2 separate regions of the Homo sapiens genome follow, and region 2 is linked to region 1. Evidence: promoter capture Hi-C in human tissues and cell types (Jung and others, 2019). All regions are on one chromosome and are shown on one strand. The core of a region is centred on a gene start or on the middle of the fragment in contact, and the rest is flanking DNA. Distances in the headings are between cores, read along the strand shown. Region 1 holds the start of BRAT1 (BRCA1 associated ATM activator 1). Region 2 has its middle 24 kb from the start of GNA12.

The links. Contacts are between HindIII fragments. The study calls those that stand out against the background at their distance.
Region 2: a contact is called between a fragment that was not itself captured here and the fragment with the promoter of BRAT1 in region 1, in 1 of the 25 tissues and cell types used here (dorsolateral prefrontal cortex).

Annotation. Positions count from the first base shown.
Region 1 is chr7:2,552,331-2,557,699 of GRCh38, forward strand. BRAT1 (BRCA1 associated ATM activator 1) reads right to left here and starts at 3,194. Exons shown (of 14, transcript NM_152743.4): 1 at 3,157-3,194; 2 at 1,975-2,117. The coding sequence starts at 2,101. RefSeq lists a silencer at 2,949-3,188 and an enhancer at 3,101-3,778. The HindIII fragment of the contact is 14,393 bases long and covers 277-5,369 here.
Region 2 is chr7:2,865,619-2,870,987 of GRCh38, forward strand. No RefSeq gene overlaps it. Among named protein-coding and RNA genes, the nearest start is that of GNA12, 24 kb to the left of the region's middle. RefSeq lists silencers at 3,828-4,032, 4,980-5,199. The HindIII fragment of the contact is 5,597 bases long and covers 1-5,144 here.

The sequences.
Region 1 (5,369 bases), core at 1,944-4,443:
TGGTCTCCAACTCCTGACCTCAAGTGATCTGCCTGCCTCAGCCTCCCAAAGTGCTGGGATTATAGGCATGAACCACCGTGCCTGGCCTTAAATATATATATTAGAAAACAAGGAAGACCTAGATATTTAGCTCAAAGAGGGTAAAAGGCACTTTGGGAAGCAGAGGCAGGTGACTGCCTGAGCCCAGGAGATCGAAAACAGCTTGGGCAATACGGTGAGACCCCATCCTTAAAAAAAAAAATACAATATAATTTAAAAATAAAAAGAATAAAAGAACACGGTAAACCAAAAAAAGGAAGTAAAGAATAGCAGAAATTAACAACATGCAGTCTATCCCAATGCAATTATCAACCATGAGAATAAACATTTACATGCGAGAATATTTATGTAAAAGGAAAGCCATTATGACACTATTTTTTTTTTTTTGAGACGGAATCTCGCTCTGTCGCCCAGGCTGCAGTGCAGTGGCGTGATCTCGGCTCACTGCAAGCTCTGCCTCCTGTGTTCACGCCATTCTCCTGCCCAGCCTCCCAAGTAACTGGGACTACAGGCGCCCACCACCACGTCTGGCTATTTTTTTTTTTTTTGTATTTTTAGTAGAGACGGGGTTTCACCATGTTAGCCAGGAGGGTCTTGATCTCCAGACCTCGTGATCTGCCTGCCTCGGTCTCCCAAAGTGCTGGGATTACAGGCTTGAGCCACCGCGCTCGACTGACACTATTTTTTTGAGACAGAGTCCATTCTGTCGCTGGAGTGCAGTGGCACGATCTGGGCTCACTGCAACCTCCGCTTCCTGGGTTCAAGCGATCCTCCCCCTCAGTCTCCCAAGTAGCTGGGATTACGGCGCATGCCACCATGCCCGGCTAATTTTTTTATTTTTAGTAGAGACGAGGTCTCACCATGTTGGCCAGGCTGGTTTCGAACTCCTGACTTCAAGTGACCTACCCGCCTTGGCCTCCCAAAGTGATGGGATTACAAGCATGAGTCACCGCGCCTGACCTATGACACTACTTAAAATGATGAAAAATGAGAAATATAAACATCTGACAGTGGAGTGATTCAATTAATTATGGTCTATTCCTACAGCAAATAACATGTAGTCAATAACATTAACATATTATGTGGAGAAAACACTCACTATGATAGCAAGAGAGAAAGCAAGACACCAAAATTGTGTTTACAGTATGACCTCATTTTTTTTTCCCCAGAAAAATACAGCTTTATGTGTTATGAAAAGGCTGGGAGTAAATTAAAACGTTGATGGTTTAATTTTCCTCTTTACTCTTTTGTTCATGTTTTAAAGAACATGTATTACTTTGTTTTTTTTTTTTGAGACAGGGTCTCACTCTATCACCCAGGTCAGGGTGCAGTGGCACAATCATAGCTCACTGCAACCTCTACCTCCCGGACTCAAAGGATCCTCCCATCTCAGCCTCCAGAGTAGCTGGGACTACAGGTGCGCCACCAGGCACAGCTAATTTTTGTTTTTTTTTTTTTTAGAGATGACGTCTCGCTATGTTGGACCAGGCTGGTCTTGAACTCCTGGACTTAAGCAATCCGCTCGCCTCAGCCTCCCAAAGTGCTGGGATTACAGGTATGAGCCACTGCATCCGGCCCCTACTTTCATAATCAGAAAGAAAACAAATCTGATGTCTTAAACACACTAAATACAACGAGAACAACAATAAAACAAGTTTGTTCACGCCTTCTGTAGAACTGAACCTTGGGGTGCCCTGATCGTGGCTCAACTGGCTGAATTTCAGGCTCTAACTCTCCAGATCATTCTCTCGGGCTTCATCTTAACTTGCCCTCAGTCTGCCACAGATAATCCTTAGGAAGTGAAGGAAAGACATCTGATTGGCAGTTTCTGCCCTTCCTCCAGGACAGGGGAGTCCCCATCTGGCCCCTGCTCCCTGTCCCAGCCTCTGCGTCTGGTCTCTGGATAGGCAGTAAACAGCAGCACCACCTCCTTACCTCCTTCAGTGACCGTTTTAAACCAGTCCAGGAGCTTCTCCAAACAGGTGTCATCTGCCACCGGCTGCCTGGGATCTACCAGAACAGCACAGAGAGCCGGGAGCAGCTGGGCGCATTCTGGGTCCATGGTGAGGCCGCAGGCCCTGCAAAGGCAATGTGAGAGCCAAACCTCAATGCCCACTCCAGACCCAGCTCGCTCTAGTCACAGCAGCCCACCATGCCTGCTCAGGCCTGGGAAGGGGCCCCAGAACTTTCATCTCAGACCAGGAGAACCATGATCCCCAGACCAGAGGTCTGTACTGCAGGGATGGATGCAAAGCTTTGGTCTAGGTGGGGCCCTGAGCGCTGGTGGCGGGGCTGAAAGGGGCAGATGAGGGTCTAGCTGAAACCACAAGGCCTCCGGAACTCAAAGTCTGTCACCCTTGGTCTTTGGTGCAGTCGGGGCAACAGCGTGGTGCTGGCCCAGGCTGCAGGTGGGCCAGAGTCAGGGGCATCTTTGAGTTCCGGGGTCAGCCATGTGTGCAAGGGGATGTCTACCCATGCCCCAGGGCCAGCCTGGGCTGGAAAGTTTCTGTCCCTCCCAGCGTCAAGTGGTGGCTGCATTTGACGTCCTGAAGCCAGCAGGGGGGTGCGGAGGGGAAGGGGCGCCTGTCCGTGTGTCTGTCCCTCTCAGGGTCAGTGGTGGCTGCATTTGCTGTTCTGCAGCCAGTAGGAGGGTGAGGAGGGGAAGGGGCACCTGTCCGTGTGTCTGTCCCTCCCAGGATTAGTGGTGGCTGCATCTGAAGCCGGCGGGGGGGAGAGGGGGGCGGCGGGGTGCGGAAAGGAAGGGGCGCCTGTCTCTCCCAGGACCAGGTGTGCATCCGTGCGTCCAGCCTCGGGGGTGGGCGGGGTGGTCAGCGGCTCTGTCTAACCGGGGCACCGTCTGCCAATGCCCGGGAAGGCTGCGTCCCGGGAAGAGGAACCCTCCCCACACTTTGAAGTCAGTTTTGGCCGCGAGCGCCAGGCCCGAGAGTCCAGAAGGGGCGCCAGAGCAGGCGGCCACAGTCGGGCTGGGAAGCGAGCCCAGGTCGCGCACGCCCCGGGCTGGGCTGCTCCCTGGCCCGCCCGCCCCCCTCGGCCGGGTCTTGGCCTCCCCGCGCCCCACTACCACGACCTCGACCCCCGAAGGCCCACGCGCCTCACCGCTCGGTTGCGTCCTCCGCCGCAACCACCCCTCGCCCAAGGCTCCGCCTCCGGACAGTGCCACCTGCCAGGCCCGGAGGAGGCGGAGGACGGAGACGGCTGGCGTGGGGAACTGAGACTGCACCCCTGGAGGCCGCTCTGGAAGCCTCGAGGGCCCAGACTTGAAGGAAGGAGTTCAAGCTGAGAGGGGCTGGGGACAGGCAGGCGCCAAGCCGGTCGCTCCGACAGATCACCCCCGCCAGGCGCCTAGTGGTTCATGCCGAGCATCCGGTGGGTGGGCGGGGCGTCTCGAGGGCGGGGATCTCTGAGGAAGGCGCGGGGTTGTGTCCGGAGGGGCGGGGCTTCGCCTGCAGGGCGCCCAGTGTCTGCACCGGCGGGAGCGAGAAAACTATGTGCCGGAGAGAAGCGTCCTGATCCGTGCACCAAAGCCCTTGGTCATTTAGCTTCAGGTTCTCAAATTAAGTCCTCCGCGGCCGCGCTGTGGCTCATGCCTGTAATTCCAGCCCTTTAGGAGGCGCAGTTGGGAGGATTGCTTGAAGCCAGGAGTTGAGACCAGCCTAGGCAACAAAGCGAGACCCCATCTCTTAAAATTTAAAAAAAAAAAAAAAAAAAAAAAAAAAGGCCAGGCGTGGTGGCTCACGCCTGTAATCCCAGCGCTCTGGGAGGCCCAGGCGGGCGGATCACGAGGTCAGGAGTTCGAGACCAGCCTGGCCAACATGGCGAAATCCCGTCTCGTCTCTAATTTTTGTATCTCTAAGATATCAAAATTAGCCGGACGTGGAGGCGCGCGCCTGTAATCCCAAGTACTCGGGAGACTGAGGCAGGAGAATCTCTTGAACCTGGGAGGCGGAAGTTGCAGTGAGCCAAGATGGTGCCACTGCACTCCAGCCTGGGCTACAGGGCGAGACTCCGTCTCAAAAAAAAAAAAAGAAAATCAGCCAGACCTGGTAGCATGCGCCTGTGGTCCCAGCTACTCCAGAGGCTGAGGCGGGAGGATCGCTTGAGCCCAGAAGTTCAAGGCTGCAGTGAGCTATGATCCTGCCCCGGCACTCCAGCCTGGGCAACAGAGCAAGACCCTGTGTTTTAAGAAAGCAAACAGGCAGAAAAACTAGGTCCAAAAAATTGAGTTCAAAACACTAACTGTGTGTTCGAGAGTCTCAAAGCCAGTGGATAGACAAGGCTCATGTTCCCAAAGCATTGTTTTATAGCAAGATTGTTGGGAGCCAACACCAGATTTAGGAAACAAAGCAGAATTCCTATGGATATTAAAATTTAAAAATTTAAAAGCACTGACTTTGCTGGGTCACCTTTATTTTATTTATTTATTTATGGAGACGGAGTGTCACTCTTTTTGCCCAGACTGGAGTGCAATGGCTCAATCTTGACTCACTGCAACCTCCACCTCCTGGGTTCAAGCGATTCTCCTGCCTCAGCCTCCCGAGTAGCTGGGATTACAGGTGCGGGCCACCACGCCCAGCTAATTTTGTATTTTTAGTAGAGACGGGGTTTCACCATGTTGGCCAGGCTGGTCTCGAACTCCTGACTTTAGGTGATCCGCCCACCTAGGCCTCCCAAAGTGCTGGGACTACCAGCGTGAGCCAACGCGCCCAGCCGTGCTGGGTAACCTTGGAAAAGCAACTTCCCTGACGCTTGCATGCCCCCTGCACACACACACACACGTACATCCTTAGAACTACATGTGTGAAAAAGTTTGAAATGCACAGTTATCTTCCCTGAAATTTGGTTCCTCATTGTGAAATGAGATACTAACATTCACCCAGTTAGGTAATTGTGGAGTAAAGAAAACTCAACAACAGCACTGTGCTAAGTGCTTCACTTACTGTAAACTTGTATGATTCTACAGCAACGGTAGGAGAGTACCACTACCAGCCCATCAGATGAGGAAAATGAGGCACAGAGAGGCTAACTCATAAGGCCTTACAGCTACTGGATTGGCACAGTTTGGATTTGAACCCAAGCAGTCTGGCTCCAGATTTGAATATTGTATTGCACAGGTCCACAATTTTTTTTTTTTTTGAGGTGGAGTCTCGCTCTGATGTCCAGGCTGGAGTGCAGTGGTGTGATCTCAGCTCACTGCAACCTCCACCTCCCAGGTTCAAGCAATTCTCCTGTCTCAGCCTCCTGAGTAGCTGAGACTACAGGCACCCACGACCCCTGGCTAATTTTTGTATTTTTAGTAGAGACAGAGTTTC
Region 2 (5,369 bases), core at 1,096-3,595, 310 kb after region 1:
AGCAACAAACTCAGCTTCCTGCCCTCATGGCACCGGCATCTTCCCCACTCCTTTTGCCGGGGTCTAAGTTTGGGGTGCATGCTTCCAGCCCCAGGAGCCCCCTCAATATCACACTGAGGTTGACTTGGCCATTTCTGCTTTCAGCCAACATAACCGGGTTCTAGAAGCTTCCTGACCGCTGTGGGAGGGTCACTTGGCCAGCAGGCAAGCGTTTCTTATTCCATGTACTTGAGTGAAGCAAAACCAGGGCTGTGTTTTTTTCCTTTTTTTTTTCTTTCTTTTTTTTTTTGAAACCAAGTCTCTCTGTCGCCCAGGCTGGAGATAACAGGTGCCCACCACCACGCTCAGCTAATTTTTGTATTTTTAGTAGAGATAAGGTTTCACCATGTTGGTAAGGCTGGTCTTGAACTGCTGATCTCAAGTGAACCACATGCCTTGGCCTCCCAAAGTGCTGGGATTACAGGTGTGAGCCACCACGCCTGGCCCTTTTTTCTTTTATTTGAGACAGGGTCTCGCTTTGTTGCCCAGGCTGGAGTGCAGTGGTGGGATCACAGCTCATTGCAGCCTCAACCTCCAGGGCGCAAGCGGTCCTCTCACCTCAGCCTCTTGAGTAGCTGGGACCAGAGGTGCTTGACACCACACCTGACTCATTAATTTTTTATATTTTTTGTAGAGACGGGGTTTTGCCATATTGCTCAGGCTGGTCTTGAACTCCTGAGCTCAAAGGATCCTCCTACCTTAGCCTCCCAAAGTGCTGGGATTACAGGTATGAGCCACTGTACCCGGCTAGGACTGTGTTTTTCTGTGACCCAACCTAATCGTTATTTCCAGCCCCTTTTCAGACTGATGATGGAAAATGTCATCTTGGCCAATTCCAGATGAACTTGGTCATTTAAGCTCAATTCTGAGCATTCCTTTGCTCACCTGGCGTGGCAGGTATGCTCTAGGGGGTGGTATAAACTTATGGCCCTGGGGAGGCTCCAGTTCCCCCTCCAACACAGATGTCTCCTGGAGGGACATTGTCATGTGCCATCCCCCACCCTCCATGCTGGTTATCCCAGAGGTGCCTGGTTCTCTGTGGAGGGCATTTTCTCTGCATCTTGCTAGCAGTCCCTGACTAATTTCCCGGCCTCACATCCTCCCGTGCTCCCATGGGGGCCATGGGAGACTTGGGGACCGTCTTTCTTGGACCCCTGCCAGGTGCCTTCTGTGTTAGTGAGATGTGCCCTTCCCTGGGTGGAAGGTTGACTTCCCATTCCCTGGGTTGGCTTCCCATTTCCCTGGGTGCCATCTGTGCCAGTTTGTTCTTGCATTGCTATAAAGGAGTACCTGAGACTGGGTAATTGATAAAGAAAAGGGGTTTAATTGGCTCACAGTTCTGCAGGCTGTATAGGAAGTGCGGTGCTGCCTTCTGCTTCTAGTGAGGTCTCCGGAAGCTTCCAATCATGGCGGAAGGTACAGGCGGCAGGAGTGAGAGAGAGAAGGGGGAGGCCCCAGACTCTTAAACGACCAGAGCTCTTAAACCCAGATTCTTAAACAACCAGATCTCATGTAAACTGAGCAAAAACTCACTCATCACCAAGCGAATGTGGCTAAGCCACTCGTGAGGGGTCTGCCTGCCGTGATCCAACACCTCCCACCAGGCCCTGCCTCCAACACTGGGGATCACATTCCAACATGAGATTTGGAGGGACACACATCCAAACCATATCACCACCTATCTCCAGGTATCCAGCACATGTGGGCTTCCTCCTCCCCTGCAGCCTGGGGGTGGGGTACTACATTTTCCTTTATAACATAGTGGTCACAATTTTGCGTTCTTTTCTTCCTGTTAAATGCCTCTCTCTCTCTCTCTCTCTCTCTCTATATATATATATATATAGATAGATAGATAGATAGATATTTTTTTTTTTAGATGGAGTCTCGCTCTGTTGCCCAGGTTGGAGTACAGTGGTGTGATCTCAGCTCACTGCAATCTTCGCCTCCCGGGTTCAAGCAATTCTCCTGCCTCAGCCTCCCAAGTAGCTGGGATTACAGGCAAGCACCACCATGCACAGCTAATTTTTGTATTTTTAGTAGAGACGGGGTTTCACCATGTTGGCCAGGCTGGTTTCAAACTCCTGAGCTTAGGTGATCCACTTGCGTCAGACTCCCAAAGTGCTGGGATTAAAGGTGTGAGCCACTGTGCCCAGCCTATAAATATTCATATATATACACACACACACACACACACACACACATATATATGTATATACATGTAAAATTTTTTTTTTGAGACAGAATCTTGCTCTGTTGCCCAGGCTGGAGTGCAGTGGTGCAATCCCAGCTAACTGCTTTCTGTGTTCAAGCGATTCTCCCGCCTCAGCCTCCTGAATAGCTAGGATTACAGGCATGTGCCACCATACCATGCTAATTTTTGTATTTTTAGTAGAGGAGGGGTTTTGCCATGTGGGCCAGGCTGGTCTGGAACAGTTGACTTCAGGCGATCCACCTGCCTTGGCCTCCCACAGTGCTGAGATTACAGGTGTGAGCCACTGCGACCAGCCTAATTTTTGTATTTTCAGCAGAGACAGGGTTTCACCATATTGGCCAGGCTTGTCTCAAACTCCTAACCTCAAGTGATCTGCCCGCCTTGGCCTCCCAAAATGCTGGGATTACAGGTGTGAGCCACTGTGCTGGCCTATTTATATTTTTAATTAAAAAAATTTTTTTGAAACAGGATCTCACTCTGTCATCCAGGGTGGAGTACAGTGGCGCAGTCACAGCTCACTGCAGCCTCTACCTCCTGGGCTCAAGTGATCCACCCACCTCAGCCTCCCAAGTGGCTGGGACTACAGGTGTTCACCACCACACCTGGCTAATTTTATTTTGACTTTTGTAGAGATGGGGGTCTCACTTTGTTGCCCAGGTTGATCTTGAACTCCTGGGCTCAAGTGATCCTCCTGCCTTGGCTTCTCAAACTGTTGGGATTACAGGTGTGAGCCACTGTGCCCAGCTATTTATATTACTTTAAATGGACAAATAGCAATTGATATGTTTATCATGTACAACACAATGTTTTGAAATACGCATACCTTGTAGAATGGTTCAATCAAGCAAATTAACATATGCATTCCTCCCATGCTTATTATTTTTTGTAGTGAGAACACTTAAAATCTGTCTACATGGTGAAACCTCATCTCTATTAAAAATAAAATACTCGATTGCATTTTCAAAATACAAGATGTCTCGATTTAAATAAGGGTTAAATCTTGTTTTCTCCACCTTATTTCCTAGTTCGCTAGCAAATGCTGCATTTGTTAATTAATTTAGGGCAATTCTTTCTTTCTGTAATTGACAAATAATAATTACGTCTATTTAAGGGGCACCGTGTGATGCTTCGATCCATGTATACGTCGTAGAATGATTAAACGCAGCGAATTAACATATCATAACCCTTAAAGCAGAGGCTTCCAGTTTCCTCTAGGGGATTCCCCATGTTCCATTCCAGTTCTGGTGGGGCCTTTCCAAGCCATACACAAACACATACACACGCGGATGTACCCCATGGAGTCACATACGAACGCACGTACACCACAGCCACGCATAGTCACAGGAGCATTGCAGGCACGCACGTGCACACACCCACCCACACACCCACCCACACACCCACCCAGGGGCATGGTCCTGTAACCCGGACCTCTTCACATCTTTGGCAACAGTAACGTGGCCCAAGGGGTAGGCCTATGTATTAGTCTGTTTTCACCCTGCTATAAAGAACTGCCTGAGACTGGGTGATTTATAAAGGAAAAGAGGTTGAATTGACTCACAGTTCAGCATGGCTGGGAGGCCTCAAGAAACTTACAATCATGATGGAAGGTGAAGAGGAAGCAAGGACCTTCTTCATAAAGTGGCAGGAGGGTGAAGTGCTGAGTGAAGCGGGAAGAGCCCCTTGTAAAACCATCAGATCTCCTGAAAACTCAGCCACTCTCACGAGAACAGCTTGGGGGAAATCTATCCCCGTGACTCAATGACCTCCACTTGGTCTCTCCCATGACTCAGTGGAGATTATGGGGATTACAGTTCAAGATGAGATTTGGGGCCGGGTGCGGTGGTTCACACCTGTAATCCCAGCACTTTGGGAGGCCGAAGTGGGCAGATCACTTGAGGTCAGGAGTTCGAGACCAGCCTGGCCAACATGGCGAAACCTTGTCTCTACTAAAAATACAAAAATTAGCCAGAAGTGATGGTGCGTGCCTGTAGTCCCAGCTACGTGGGAGGCTGTGGCAGGAGAATCGCTTGAACCCGAGAGGCAGAGGCTGCAGTGAGCCGAGATCACACCAGCCTGGGTGACAGAGCCAGACTCAGTCTCAAAGGAAAAAAAAAAAAGATGAGATTTGGGTGAGGCGCAAAGCCTCACCATATCAGTCTCCACCCAGGAGAGTCCACCCTGCCTGGAGGAGAAAGAGGGCGCTGGGCTGTGGTGGCCCCGTGTGTCCCAGTGGAGGGGTCTGTCTGCCATGGGCAGGAGTGCGCCCCCCCTGCACAGAGGGCTACAGCTCAGAGGCGAGGCGGGGATCGGACCTAGTGAGAGCTGAGCGCCTGGTCTGGGCCCTGTTGGGCTTGGTGAGCCACTCTGTGGCTTTTAGTGATACCTGAGCCAGCAGACCTTACCTCTGTGCGCCAGGGGTGCTTTGTGGGGTCCGATGCTGTTCACACCCTGCGTCCTCCCGTCCTGTCCGGGTCCCCCTTTCCCACGTGCACAAGGAGTGGCTGACGGTCTCCCAGGACTCCCCCACCACCCCCTACACACTCCACTTCAACTCTGCAAAGGCAGCACCCTTCCCTGGAGTGTGAGACCCTCCCTGCCTGCCCCTCTCTGCCTGAGCAGGACAGGAAGCTATTGAGCCCCTGTGAAGCTCTAGGCCAGGTGCCTGGAGTCAGCGATGAGTAAGAGGAGGCAGGGCCTGCAGCCCTCGGAGGCCCAGGACTTTAGGGAACTCATTAGAGAGACTCATTTCGTTACCTGTGTCACTTTGGTCATCTGGGAGGCAGACGTCAAGACAGAAGAAATGAGCAAGAGATTGATGAAACGCAATGCCCAAGCAGGATACAGGGAGAGGATGCAGGGTGGGCGGGGACCAACTTCCAACCGTGACGCAGGGCTTGTGTTTGCCAGAGGAGAAGAGGAAGGAAGGAGGGTTAAGTGGGAGGAGCCCCAGGCTGCAGTGCAGCTGTGAGAAAGTCCTCTCCAGGCCCACGGGGAGCTCTAGCAAGGTCCCGGGTGGGGCAGGAGCTGCCAGGCCCCAGGTGCTACTGCATTCCTGTGGAGGGTGACTCTGGGAGGGAAAGCAGAGCCGTGCACCTCCAGGGCCACCCCGACGGTGACA